Linked DNA regions of Homo sapiens: region 1 is linked to region 2. The links are contacts of gene promoters, found by promoter capture Hi-C in blood cells and fetal thymus (Javierre and others, 2016). All regions are on one chromosome and are shown on one strand. Each heading gives the region's core, a stretch centred on a gene start or on the middle of the fragment in contact. The rest is flanking DNA. Distances are from core to core; before and after follow the strand shown. Region 1 overlaps GON7 (GON7 subunit of KEOPS complex). Region 2 holds the start of BTBD7 (BTB domain containing 7).

What was found. Contacts are between HindIII fragments. The CHiCAGO score rates a contact against its expected background, and 5 or more counts as called.
Region 1: a fragment that was not itself captured here is called in contact with the fragment with the promoter of BTBD7 in region 2 in 1 of 17 cell types (fetal thymus); the score reaches 5.2 in fetal thymus.

The regions. Positions count from the first base shown.
Region 1 is chr14:93,198,676-93,205,076 of GRCh38, reverse strand. It overlaps GON7 (GON7 subunit of KEOPS complex), which reads left to right. Exons shown (of 2, transcript NM_032490.5): 2 at 1,295-2,183. The coding sequence ends at 1,389. Among named protein-coding and RNA genes, the nearest start is that of GON7, 5.2 kb to the left of the region's middle. The HindIII fragment of the contact is 7,279 bases long and covers 1-5,307 here.
Region 2 is chr14:93,331,009-93,337,150 of GRCh38, reverse strand. BTBD7 (BTB domain containing 7) reads left to right here and starts at 4,115. Exons shown (of 11, transcript NM_001002860.4): 1 at 4,115-4,331. It also overlaps a transcript of UNC79 not described here. The HindIII fragment of the contact is 5,146 bases long and covers 3,058-6,142 here.

The sequences.
Region 1 (6,401 bases), core at 419-2,918, 130 kb after region 2:
CCTCCCAAGAAAACTGGAAACGTATGTTCACACAAAAACTTACGCATGAATGTTGATAACAGCAGCATTTATAGTAGCTAAAACGTGGAAACAACAATTGGCTGGGCTTGGTGTTGCGCCTTTAGGAGGTGGGAGGATCATGTGAACCCAAGAGTTTGAAGCTGCAGTGGGCTGATTGCTCCACTGCACTCCAGCCTGGAGGACAGAGTGAGGCCTCATCTCTTCATCTCTAAAAATGATAATTTTAAAAAATAGAAATAATGCAAATATCCATCAACCGATGAGTGCATTAACAAAATGTGGTATATCCATACAATGGACTATTATTAGCAATAAAAAGTAATGAAGTATTAACATGTGCTACAACATGAATGAACCTTGAAAACATTATGCTAAGTGAGAGCCAGACACAAAAGGGTACATGTTGCATGATTTTGTTTATATGAATGTACAGAATAGGCAAATCCATAGAGATAGAGTAGATTAGTGAGCCAGGTGCAGTGGTGGGCACCTGTAGTCCCAGCTACTCTAGAGGCTGAGACAGGAGGATCACTTGAACCTGGGAGTTTGAGTCTAGCTGGGCAACATAGCAAGACCCTATCTCTAATAAGGGGGAAAAAAAGTAGATTAGTGGTTGCCGAAGGCTGAGGGGAATGGAAAGCGACTGCTAATGGGCATATCATTTCTCTTTGGAGTGATGAAAGTGTTCTAGGTGATGGTTGCACAAGCTAGTGAATATACTAAAAACCACTAGGCCGTACACTTTTTAAAAGAGTGGATTTTGGCCAGCCACAATGGTTCATACCTGTAATCCCAGCACTTTGGGAGGCCGAGGCGGGCGGATCACGAGGTCAGGAGAACAAGACCATCTTGGCCAACATGGTGAAACCCCATCTCTACTAAAATGCAAAAAATTAGCCGGGCGTGGTAGCGCGTGCCTGTAATCCCAGCTACTTGGGAGGCTGAGACAGAGGAATCGCTTGAACCCCGGAGGCGGAGGTTGCAGTAAGCTGAGATCGTGCCACTGCACTCCAGCCTGGCGACAGAGCAAGACTATCTCAAAAAAAAAGAAAAAAAGAGTGGATTTTATGGTGAATGAACTAATATTTCCAAAGAGGAAAGTGATAGAAAATAAAGATTTTAAACACTGAAATTCTCAAAATCATTTTAATCTAAAATGTGCAGGTTTTATTAATCCCTAAAGTGAAATGGTCTCATTATCAACCACTTTAGCTATATATATTTCTTTCAGCCATAGAACGTATTGTCATACAACAAATATTTATTTTAAAAGGTGATGATGAAGATGATGCAGAAGATGAAAATAACATTGATAACAGAACTAACTTCGATGGACCATCTGCAAAACGGCCAAAAACACCGTCTTAACAATAGCCTTCATGACATTTAAAAGATGGCTGTTGTATCCTTATTGTCACACTAGGACATTTAAGGAAGACTTATGCTCTAATTTGGAAAAAGCATTTGTGTTGTTCTCCTGGGACAATTTTGTCAAAGAGAAAACTGGTTTTTCTGTTTCTAGCAAAGATAGTAAAGGCTTAGAAATAAAATCTGTTTTCTTGAGAAATAAATTTCAGACCCTGGAAGGAAAATAGAACACTTCATAATGTATAAAATCCTCTAAGTTGGCAACTGAATTTTTATCATTGTTTTCTATTTTTAAAATAATCATTGATTTGTGTGATGTCTACATCTTTTAACTTCTGGTTCTGTTATAAAGAGTACATGTCACGGTTCATAGGCAGTAACATTTCAGAGAACTGACATGAACAAGTAGTGAAAATTGGGCATTAAATATAAAAATAACAGTTCTTCATAAACAGAAGGAAAATAAGGAAATAGAAATACCGACGAGAAAGGAGAGTCCTTGAAAGAGACCCAAGGAAACCCTGAATTCATACCCACGTCAAATATGCACATATCCTGAGATGATGCCACTTTGATGAATGTGCATTAGTCTGATTTATCATGTACCTTAAGAGAGCCAGATGGGGTATGTTTTTGTGCTGTGATATGGTATTTATACAGGTACAAATATAAGGCCTTAAGTAAACAATCTGCATTGATTACAATTTGGATATTTCCTCTCCTCCTGTAGCCATACTTTGATTTTGCTTTAAAAAGATTATTGAATCCTTTTAAAAATATATATTCCTAAAATATGTATGTGTGTGTGTTTCTTTTCTGCTCGTCAGTGGGACTAAGGCATTTTTATTTGCTGTGCATCCTTCCTGATTTAGATAGCTTCAATGCAAAGAAATCAAGTAGCATGTACCTAGTAAAATACAAATAGTCATGGAATTTTAGAGTTGGAAGTCACTTTACAAATTATGTGATTTATTTCAGAGATAAATCTAAGGATAAGTATTTGCCCTCAGATTACAGAGCTAACCATTGACAAACTGGGTTACATAAATAGCCTTTAGATTTTTTTTAAGCTGATAAAAGGTGAGAGAAGATCAACTTTTTTTTTCTTTTTTTTTTTTTTTTTGAGACAGAGTTTCACTCTTGTTGCCCAGGCCGGAGTGCAGTGGCACAATCTTGGCTCACTGCAACCTCTCCCTCCCGGATTCAAGCAATTCTTCTGCCTCAGCCTCCCAAGTAGCTGAAATTACAGGCATGTGCCACCACGCCCAGCTAATTTTGTATTTTTAGTGGAGATGGGGTTTCACCATGTTGGTCAGGCTGGTCTCGAACTCCTGACCTCAGGTGATTCACCCACCTTGGCTTCCCAAAGTGCTGGGATTACAGGCATGAGCCACCACGCCAGGTCAATTTTTTTTTTTTTCCCAGGGTCAACTTTTTTTTCAGATGGAGTCTTGCTCTGTTGCCCAGGCTGGAGTGCAATGGTGCGATCTGGGCACACTGCAACCTCCACCTCCCAGGTTCAAGCAATTGTCCTGCTTCAGCCTCCTGAGTAGCTGGGATTGTAGGTGCACACCACCACGCCCGACTAATTTTTATATTTTTAGTAGAGATGGGGTTTCACCATGTTGGTAAGGCTGGTCTCGAACTCCTGACCTCGTGACCCGCCCGCCTCAGCCTCCCAAAGTGCTGGGATTACAGGCGTGAGCCACCGTGCGTAGCCTTTTTTTCTTTCTTTCTTTTTTAAATTTTTATTTTTAGACAGGGTTTCACTCTGTCACCCAGGCTGGAGTGCAGTGGCACGATCGCGGCTCACTGTCACTGCAACCTCCGAGTCCCAGGCTTAGGTGATCTTCCCACCTCACCCTCTCAAATAGCTGGGACCACAGGCATGCACCAGCACACCTGGCTAATTTTTTTGTATTTGTAGAGATGGTTTCACCACGTTGCCCAGGCTGGTCTAGAACTCCTGGACTCAAGGGATCTGCCCACCTCTGCCTCCCAAAGTGCTGGGATTACAGGCGTGAACCACCATGCCCGGACTAATCAACTTTTATGAATCACTTTTATTGTGAAATAATTTAAGTGAAACTCAATTTACACACTTTTTCATATCCTTGAAATATTGTTTTAGTTGGAACAGCAAGCAGCCTTCCACTAAGTACTCTTGGGCAATCAAAACAGTGCCAACTAGAAAAAGTTATGGATGGTCAGAAATTATCTTTGTTTAGTTTATGTTGATGTTTCTAACATTTAACTTATTTATTATAGTACTGTTATCTCTATACAATCATTAAAGAAAAAACTGGTTGGGCACGGTGGCTGATGGCTGTATTCCCAGCACTTTGGGAGGCCGAGGTGGGCGGATCACCTGAGGTCGAGGGTTCGAGACCAGCCCAACCAACATGGAGCAACCCAGTCTCTACTAAAAATACAAAATTTGCCTGGTGTGGTGGCACATGCCTGTATTCCCAGCTACTTGGGAGGCTGAGGCAGGAGAATAGCTTGAAACTGGGAGGCAGAAGTTGCAGTGAGCCAGTGGTGCCATTGCACACCAGACTGGGCAACAAGAGCGAAACTCCATCTCAAAAAAGAAAAGAAAAAAACTTACCTGTATATACTGAAAAGAGAGCACATTGTTAAACTGATATTTGAACCTTTTCTCTGAACATTTTATGTTTCCTCCTTTGGAAAATGTGGTTATAAAGAAGAAATTTCAAGATAATATTTGTGTTTGTGTCCCAGTGTTTTTAGGTTCTGATTTATAAGATTGGTCTTTTAATTAATTTTAATACTGATTTCAATTCTAATACTGTCTTCTTCATAAGTAAGCCATGTGTTTGACAAAGATGGACCAGTATAGAAGAAATGCTTTGCCAAGTTGCCTAATCTGCTGCTGCTCTTGGGTCTCACTGTCACTCAGGCTGGAGTACAGTGGCGCAATCAGCTCACTGCAGCCTGGAATTCCTGGGCTCAGGTGATCCTCGCACCACAGCTTCCCAAGCAGCCAAGCACTAGGTGTGTGCCATCACGCCAGGCTAATTTATTTTTTATCTTATTTCTTCTTTTTTTTTTTTTAGACGGAATTTCGCTCTTGTTGCCCAGGCTGGAGTGCAATGGTGCAATCTTGGCTCATTACAACTTCCACCTCCCAGGTTCAAGCGATTCTCCTGCCTCAGCCTCACAAGTAACTGGGACTACCGGCATGCGCCACCAGGCCAGGCTAATTTTGTATTTTTAGTAGAGATGGGGTTTCTCCATGTTGATTAGGCTGATCTCAAACTCCCGACCTCAGGTAATCCACCCGCCTTGGCCTTCCAAAGTGCTGGGATTACAGACACCGCACCCGGCCATTTTTTTTTTTTTTTTTTTTTGAAATGGAGTTTCACTCTTTTTGCCCGGGCTGGAGTGAAATGGCATGGTCTTGGCTCACTGTAACATCCACCTCCCAGGTTCAAGCGATTCTCATGCCTCAGCCTCCCAAGCAGCTGGGATTACAGGTGCCTGCCACCACGCCTGGCTAATTTTTGTATTTTAGTAGAGACATGGTTTCACCATGTTGGCCAGGCTGGTCTTGAACTCCTGACCTTAGGTGATCCACCCACTTTGGCCTCCCAAAGTGCTTGGATTACAGGTGTGAGCCACCGTGCCCAGCTGCCAGGCTAATTTTTTAATTTTTTGTAGAGATGGGGGCCTTGCTTTGTAGCCCTGGGTGGTCTTAAAACTCTTGGCTGTAAGCGATCCTCCTGCCTTGGCCTCCCAAAGTGCTAGGATTACAGGCATGAGCCACCGCACCTGACAAATCTGCCTTCTGTGGTACAAACAGCCACAGGCAAGCAGAATAAAGTTACTCTTTGAAACAGCTCCAACTTTACTTTTGAACAGGAAAGTCAGCCGCACAATCCTACCTAAAAATAAGCTTGACATTAGACTTAGATAAATCTTTTAAAATGTGAAACATATGGAATTTATGCAAGATAGATGTGTTTTCTAAAAGTAAGTCCTTTTGCGTCACAGAAATGTTTATTTTAATAATAGAATTCTGTGGCCAAGGACGAGAACTTTTTTATAATAGGTTGTGGTTGCTTGGCTATAATATTAGGTTGGTGCAAAATTAATTTTAAGACATTTAAACCTTTTTGGGAAGAAAAACTTACTTTGGAAAAGTAGGAAAAAAAATGTATGTGAGGAAATCAATTCCCCCGCCTCTCCATTTAGAAATGGGCATTCAGAATCAGAGGATTTTTTTTTTTTTTTGAGATGGTCTCTGTCATGCAGGCTGGAGTGCAGTGTCATGAACATAGCTCGCTGCAACTTCAAACTCATTTGGAAGGTAAGGGCTCAAGCAATCTTGAGTTCAATAGCTCAAGATTTTTCAGGGCTCAAGCAGTCTTCCCACTTGGCCTATAGAGTAGCCAGGACTACAGGTGCATGCAATCACGCTTGGCTATTTTTTTTTTTTTTTTTGAGACGGGGGAGGTCTCAGTTACGTTGCCTAGGCTGTTTTCTAATTCCTGGCCTCAAGTGATCCTCTTCAGCTCAGCCTCCCCAAGAGCTGGAATTACAGGCCTGAGCCACCATGCCCAGCTTAGACTCAGGATTTATGCTTCTGCCACTAGTTGCCTTTCAAATCCTGGGCCAAATGACCTCCTTTGTCTATCTACTTATCCTTTAGGTTTCAGTTTAAACATTTGCTTCAGGAGAACTTTTGAATTTTTTAATTGAAAAAGCCTGTACTTCTAAAGGAAATAAAGTTTATGTTTTCTTCCAAATGAGAAAATCAGTTGGAGATGTCTGTGGCCCTCAGTTTATTATGTAGTACTTTTATCTAGTTTCTATTTAACCTAAAGATGCAACTGTTTCTCAAATTGTTCCATCAATGTAAGTATAGACTATCATTTCTTATATTGCAATAAGATACATACATAAGACAACCTGTGGCTGAGCGTGGTGGCCCACACCTGTAATTGCAGCACTTTGGGAGGCCAAGACTGGCAGATCACCTGAGGTCAGGA
Region 2 (6,142 bases), core at 2,866-5,365:
CTGTGGGCGGGCCTGGAAAAAGCACTACTTTATTGGCTGAAAGGCATCAAGGAAGTTCTCACTCCAGGTCGTGGACTTCACTGGGAACTGGCAGCCTGGCCCCCAGGCTTTAGGCCATCTCTGGTTTGAAGGTGGGGTTTCACCAGGGACCCACCCCTTCCCACCTAGGAACCTGTCTGCCTCCCACCACCATCACAAGGGGATAGTGTGAAGCCATTCATGAGGGATCTGCCTTCATGATCCAAACACCTCCCACCAGGTCCCACTTCCAACACTGGCGATTACATTTCAACATGAGATTTGGAGGGGACAAACATCCAAACCATATCAGTACATTTTGATGCACTTAAGTTCATATTTTAAATACAGTTGAATCTATGAATCTTGTCTTCATGATTAATGTTTTCTGTGACTTGCTTGTCTTTTCTTCCCCAAGGCAATGAATATTTTCCAATATTATTTTCTAAAACCTTTATTAATTGTATTATTTGTTAATTTAATAATTATTAAGGCCATGTGCAGTGGCTCACGCCTGTAATCCTAGCACTTTGGGAGGCCAAGGTGGGCGGATCACGAGGTCAGGAGTTTGAGACCAGCCTGGCCAACATGGTGAAACCCTGTCTCTACTAAAAATACAAAAAATTAGTCAGGCATGGTGGCACGCACCTGTAATCCCAGCTACTCGGGAGGCTGAGGCAGGAGAATCACTTGAACCCAGGAGGCGGAGGTTGCACTGAGCTGAGATTGCGTCATTGCACTCCAGCCTGGGTGACAGAGCAAGACTCTGTCTCAAGAAAAAAAAAAATTGAAAATTGAATAATTATTAAGCACTTCTTAATTAAGCATCTACAAGGTACTTATCACTGTTCTGGGGTTTTCAATCCTCTTCACCTTTTAGACTTCAGGAAATTCAGAAAAATGCATGAAAACAGGATTGTTACATGCAGAGAAATAGGGGGAGATAAAATTTGTCTTTTCTCCTTAATTTCAAAAACCCAGCTTCCATCCTGTATTTCCAGGAAGATGAGTGTGGGAATGGGTTTCAGTGGATGGTTATGTGTGGTAAAAAAGGGGGGTACAAAGGAAGGAAAAGACTGGAGTGACAGACCATGGAATATACCATGAAATGTTGATTACTCTTATTTTCAACATAGATGACCAGGTGGATGGGATGCCATTCACTGATGGAGGGAGTGGAGAAAGGAACAAAACATAAATTCAGGACTTTTGGTTGAAAGCCACAGAAGTTCACTGTTTTTACCCATTTCCAACTAACTTAAGATAAAAAGAGGTGTTAGGGCAACTTAATGGCTTCTAAAAATGAAAAGACCAGGGATGGGTTGGTTTCAGGCCCAGGTAGGCCCAGGTATTCAAATGATGTCATGGTTTTCCTTTCTCTCACTTTGTTTCTTTGTTTATGGTCTTCCTCCTTTCCTACCGCACATGGCTTTCTCCTCATTGGCAAACAAAGCCAATTTACATGTCCTTTCGAGTCATAATCCCGGAGAAATAGAGTAAGAAGAAACATCTCCTCTGAGAGTGTGGCAAAAATTTCCAGAAAAGGTTCTGGTTGACCTATTTGTGTCATATGGCCATCCAGATCTATCTGATTCTAGAATGCATGCTGTTAACCACTACTTAGTACCATCTTAACACTAGCCTTAAAAAAATGTTTTTCACTCTGTCTTCTTATTTAGATTCTAAGCTCCTTAAGTACAAAGATCCATTTATTTTTTACCCCCAGCATGTAGTACCGTGCTTGGCACATGGTACTGGATACTTTAAATGTGTATCGGACTGAACTAAAATAAACATCTAAATTCTGATGAGTGTGTAAACTGAGCTAATTCAGGATCTCAAAAGTACAGTTAAATGGTATAATAAGGAAACAGTGAATGAATTAAAGGGTAGAAAAAAATCATGGATCACTTACAAATGGTTTCTAGATCCAAACAGTCTACTAGAAGTCTCCAGCTGTGCAGATAGACAAAAGGACAAGGTGCAACCAGCAGACCTTACTTGGCTTTTCAAAAAGTTTTAGATTTCCACATCAAAGGCTGTTAGAAAAAGTGTTATCCTGAAATTACTTAGAATTCTATTGTTGTTGATACCATTTTAATTTTGTTTTTTAAATTGTGGCTAGGAAATAGAAGCAAAGTCAAGTAATAAAGGTTAGTAATAAGTGTAAACAGTGGGGACTGATCTTATTTAACATTTCCATAAATTATAAAGAAGCAGTGTTTACACACCGCTTTTTAGTTTGCTAATCATAGCTCTTTCAGTTAATGCAATACAGTCATCCCCCATATACTATATACGTGGGATTGGTTCCAGGACCCACCACATATACCCCAATCCAAGCATACTCAAGTCTGCCTGTCCGTCCTGTGGAATGTGAGTATAAGAAAAGTCGGCCCTCTCAATACGGTGTTTAGAATCCCATGTACCAGGTTGCATTGATCGATCCGCACAGTTCAAACCCGTGTTGTTCAAGTGTTAACTGTATTTAGCAAATTAAGACAAAGGTAAAATGATGGAAAATAACAGTAAATGGCTTGAATTTAGATAAGGTTCACTTACGCCTTTGGGGAAGTATAAAAGTGTGGAACAAGAGGTGGACACTCAGAGGTAATCATTGGCTCCAATTAGATGGACCTATTTCTTTTATATTTTCTCACTTTTCCATGCATTTCTTGTCTATCGCCCTGAGGCTGTATGTTCAACTGAAGTGACCCTTACCAGCTAGAGGGGAATTTCAGGCAAGGGACTGCTACAATCTCTGCTACAATCTCCAAACCTTCAAGGATTGGGTAAGAGGGTGAAAAGGGTGAGATGGGTAAAGAAAATGAAGTAATACAAATTGGAAAGAGCTATCCTTTTCAAGGAAGTAAGGTGATGAAGAATGAGGGTGAGGAAAATACAAATCTGAAGGAAGTCCAGAGGAAAACAACAATGATATTGTCTCCAACTGAATATGAAAAGCATAAAATAATGGAGGGTCAAGAGATGGTTAAAAACACATCACAAAATTCCAAATTGCTCTTATCCTTTGAAGCTTAGAGGTGGTTTCAGAACAACAACAACAAAAAACTGTGTGACACAAAACTTGTTAAACAATGGGTAGAGATTGAAAATGCAAATACAATACTTTCAAATAAATTCCCAGAGTTGCTAATGTCTATCAGAGGAAAAGGAGGTGTAACGGTGCCTCCTCACTGGGTTCAGAATGCCTGGGTTCTGATCTTGGCTTGCCTACTTGTTAGTATTTCTGAGCCTGTCTCCTTGGTTGTAAAACAGCAATAAAAACACCTATCCTGACTACCACAAAGGGTGGCTTTGGCGTTCAAATGAAACCATGGATCTCTCTGGAAAACGACAGTGCCCCATAAATACAGTATTTTTGTTATTGCATCGCTGAAATTATTGCAAACCCCCAAACAAGGGGCATCTAGGGAAGAGCGACTTGGCTCTCCCACGTGGCGACTGTGTGTTTTCATCAATTTTGTCCTTTGTTTACAGGGGTATCTTGTTAAGGAAAACTTTTCAGTGTCTTAAAGATTATTTTTTAACCTACTACACAAGTAGCAAGGTGGTGCCTGTAAAAGTACCATGCAGACAAGTGCTTACGATAGACAAGTGCTCACTGCCAAGAAGCAGCCACCGGAATGCCAGGACTGTCAGCAATGACTTTCCGCGGAAGAGTTGTTCTCGAGAAAGATGCACTCATTGCATGCGACCACCCGAGGGACGCCGGCCGCCGAACGGAAACATGAATTCGTGGAAATGGCCATCTGGTGACGTAGTAGTGACACAGTTCTTATATTCTGATACATTTAATAATGTGTCACAATTCGCTGGACTAAGCAGGATGCTGCCACAAGAGGCAAACTCCCAGCGACCCGACGCCCGGCTCCCAGCCGACGAGCAAAAATAATGCGCGCGCACTCCGCTCCCATGGATCCAGCGAACGCACCGCCCCCCCACGCGGCCCGACTCGCGCGGCGACGTCGGGCCACGTGACCCTGAGCGGGACGACGGCAGGGGAGGGCGGGGGCTCCGGCCGGCTCCGCAGCGCCGCGCAGGCGCCCCAGGGCCACGCCGAACCGAGCCCCTCCTGCTCCGTCTAGGAGTCAAAATGGCGGCGAGGGGAACCTGGAGCAGTCCCGGAGCCTGAGCCACTGACAGGAGAGGAGAGGGCGGCGGCGGCGGCGGTGGGAGGAGGATGGCCGGGGGTGCTGGCGCCGGTGCGGACGGCGGTGCTGGTGGCGGCGGCGGCGGAGGCGACGGCAGCGGTCCCAGCGGCAGCAGCAGCGGCGGGAGGAGCCTCCGGGGTGAGTGTCCCTTGGTGTCTCTGAGGCTGTGGAGCCGAGGCTGTGTCCGGTGTGGCGCGGGGCGTCCGGGAGAGGAAGGGGCTGTTCTTAGGCGTGGGGGCGCCGGGGCTGGGGCCAAGCCGCCGCGGGAGGCGCTGGGGCGCCGGGCGGGGAGGGGCCAGTCGTCCGTCTGGGGCTGAGGCGCGGCGGCGCCGGACTGGCCGGTCTCTGTGCGCTCCGAGGGGCGGGCTGGAGCGCGCCGCCGTCCCTGGGGCAGGGGCGCGAGGTGTGGCGCTCGGGGCGGGGAGAGCGGCCCGAGGGAGTCGCGACGGCAGCCCGGCCGGCTTTGGGCTCCGGGCGCCGAGGGGCGGGACCCGTCGCTCCCAGGACGCTGAGAAACCGCTCCCGAGACGGGGGCGCGTGTTTACCCGGGTGCGGGGTTGCGACCGCCAGGGGTGGGCGTGAGAGTGGCCGGCGGGGTCTGGGAAGGGAGCAGGCCTGAGGACTGCTACTCCCAGGGGAAGTTAGATTGTCCGGGTAAGTTACTATTGCGGGATAAACCTGGAATTGAGCTTTGACAGGTTGGGAGGGAGACAATACCGAGTGTTTGATAAAGAAGAGGAGGCTGTGCTTGTTGGACTACTTGAATGGCAAAAAGTGTGCATATTTCAGTACCTTATTTGCACAGTGTTTGCTAGCTTTACCCCGAGGGTGAGAACTTTCTCACCGTTTTTCAAGAAACTCTGAGGAGTGTTGTTTCTCCTGTGAACTACAATTGCACGTCTTCACATACCAGCACAGATAATAAGTACTCTGGAGTAGGCCTAATTTACAGAAGCAGTCTTGGTTATCTACACCAGAGCACTGTTAACTCTGCGAAAACATCTTACTGTAATGAGAAAGTAGACATTTTTACAGAATTACTTAGCTTTTTCAACTAACAACCTTTTTGGGGGGGGGGAGACGGAGTCTCGCTCTGTCACCCAGGCTGGAGAACAGTGGTGCGATCTCGACTCACTGCAACCTCCGCCTCTCAGGTTCAAGCGATTCTCCTGTCTCAGCCTCCCAAGTAGCTGGGATTACAGGCGCCCGCTGCCACGCCCGGCTAGTTTTTGTATTTTTAATAGAGACGTGGTTTCACCATGTTGGCCAGACTGGTCTCGAGCTCCTGACCTCTGGTGATCCGCCCGCCTCGTCCTTCCGAACTACTGGGATTGCAGGCGTGAGCCACCGCGCCCGGTCTGGTCAACTAACAATCTTTTGTCCCTAATAGCATCTGTTTCCTTTAGATTGCTGAAATGAATTGCTTTCTTCCTGAAATGTGGAAGAAAGACTTGAAATTGCTTTGCAAGAATCATACGTTGTTAATAGCAACTGTTATTAGACTTGTCATGGAATTTTGGAGTCAGAAAAACTTTTAGAGATCTAAAGGTGTGAATATTGTTTTAGAGCCGGGAAACCAGACCCAGAGAGGCGAGTGACTTGTTGTGGATCCTACAGCTGGCGATGGATTAGACCAAAACTAAGATGTAGGCCTCTACACCCCATTACCCCATTTAGAGAGCTCATTGTTACTACACTGCTGAGCTGCTTACTTTTCATTGATTGCATTCTTCACCATTCACTACCTACCCCTATCCATAGGGTTTTGGTGTAATAAAGTTGAAAGCGAAAATGAGAGCCTCTGTCTCATTCTGACAGCTACTTCAAGTAACTGATGAAGATTTTTTTTTTTTCCTAACCTGAACTTAATAAAAACGGAGTGATATTTCGTTTGGAGTTTTCTTAGGCTCATGACTACATTTTCACCCAGTTTTAGCATGGCTCATTCT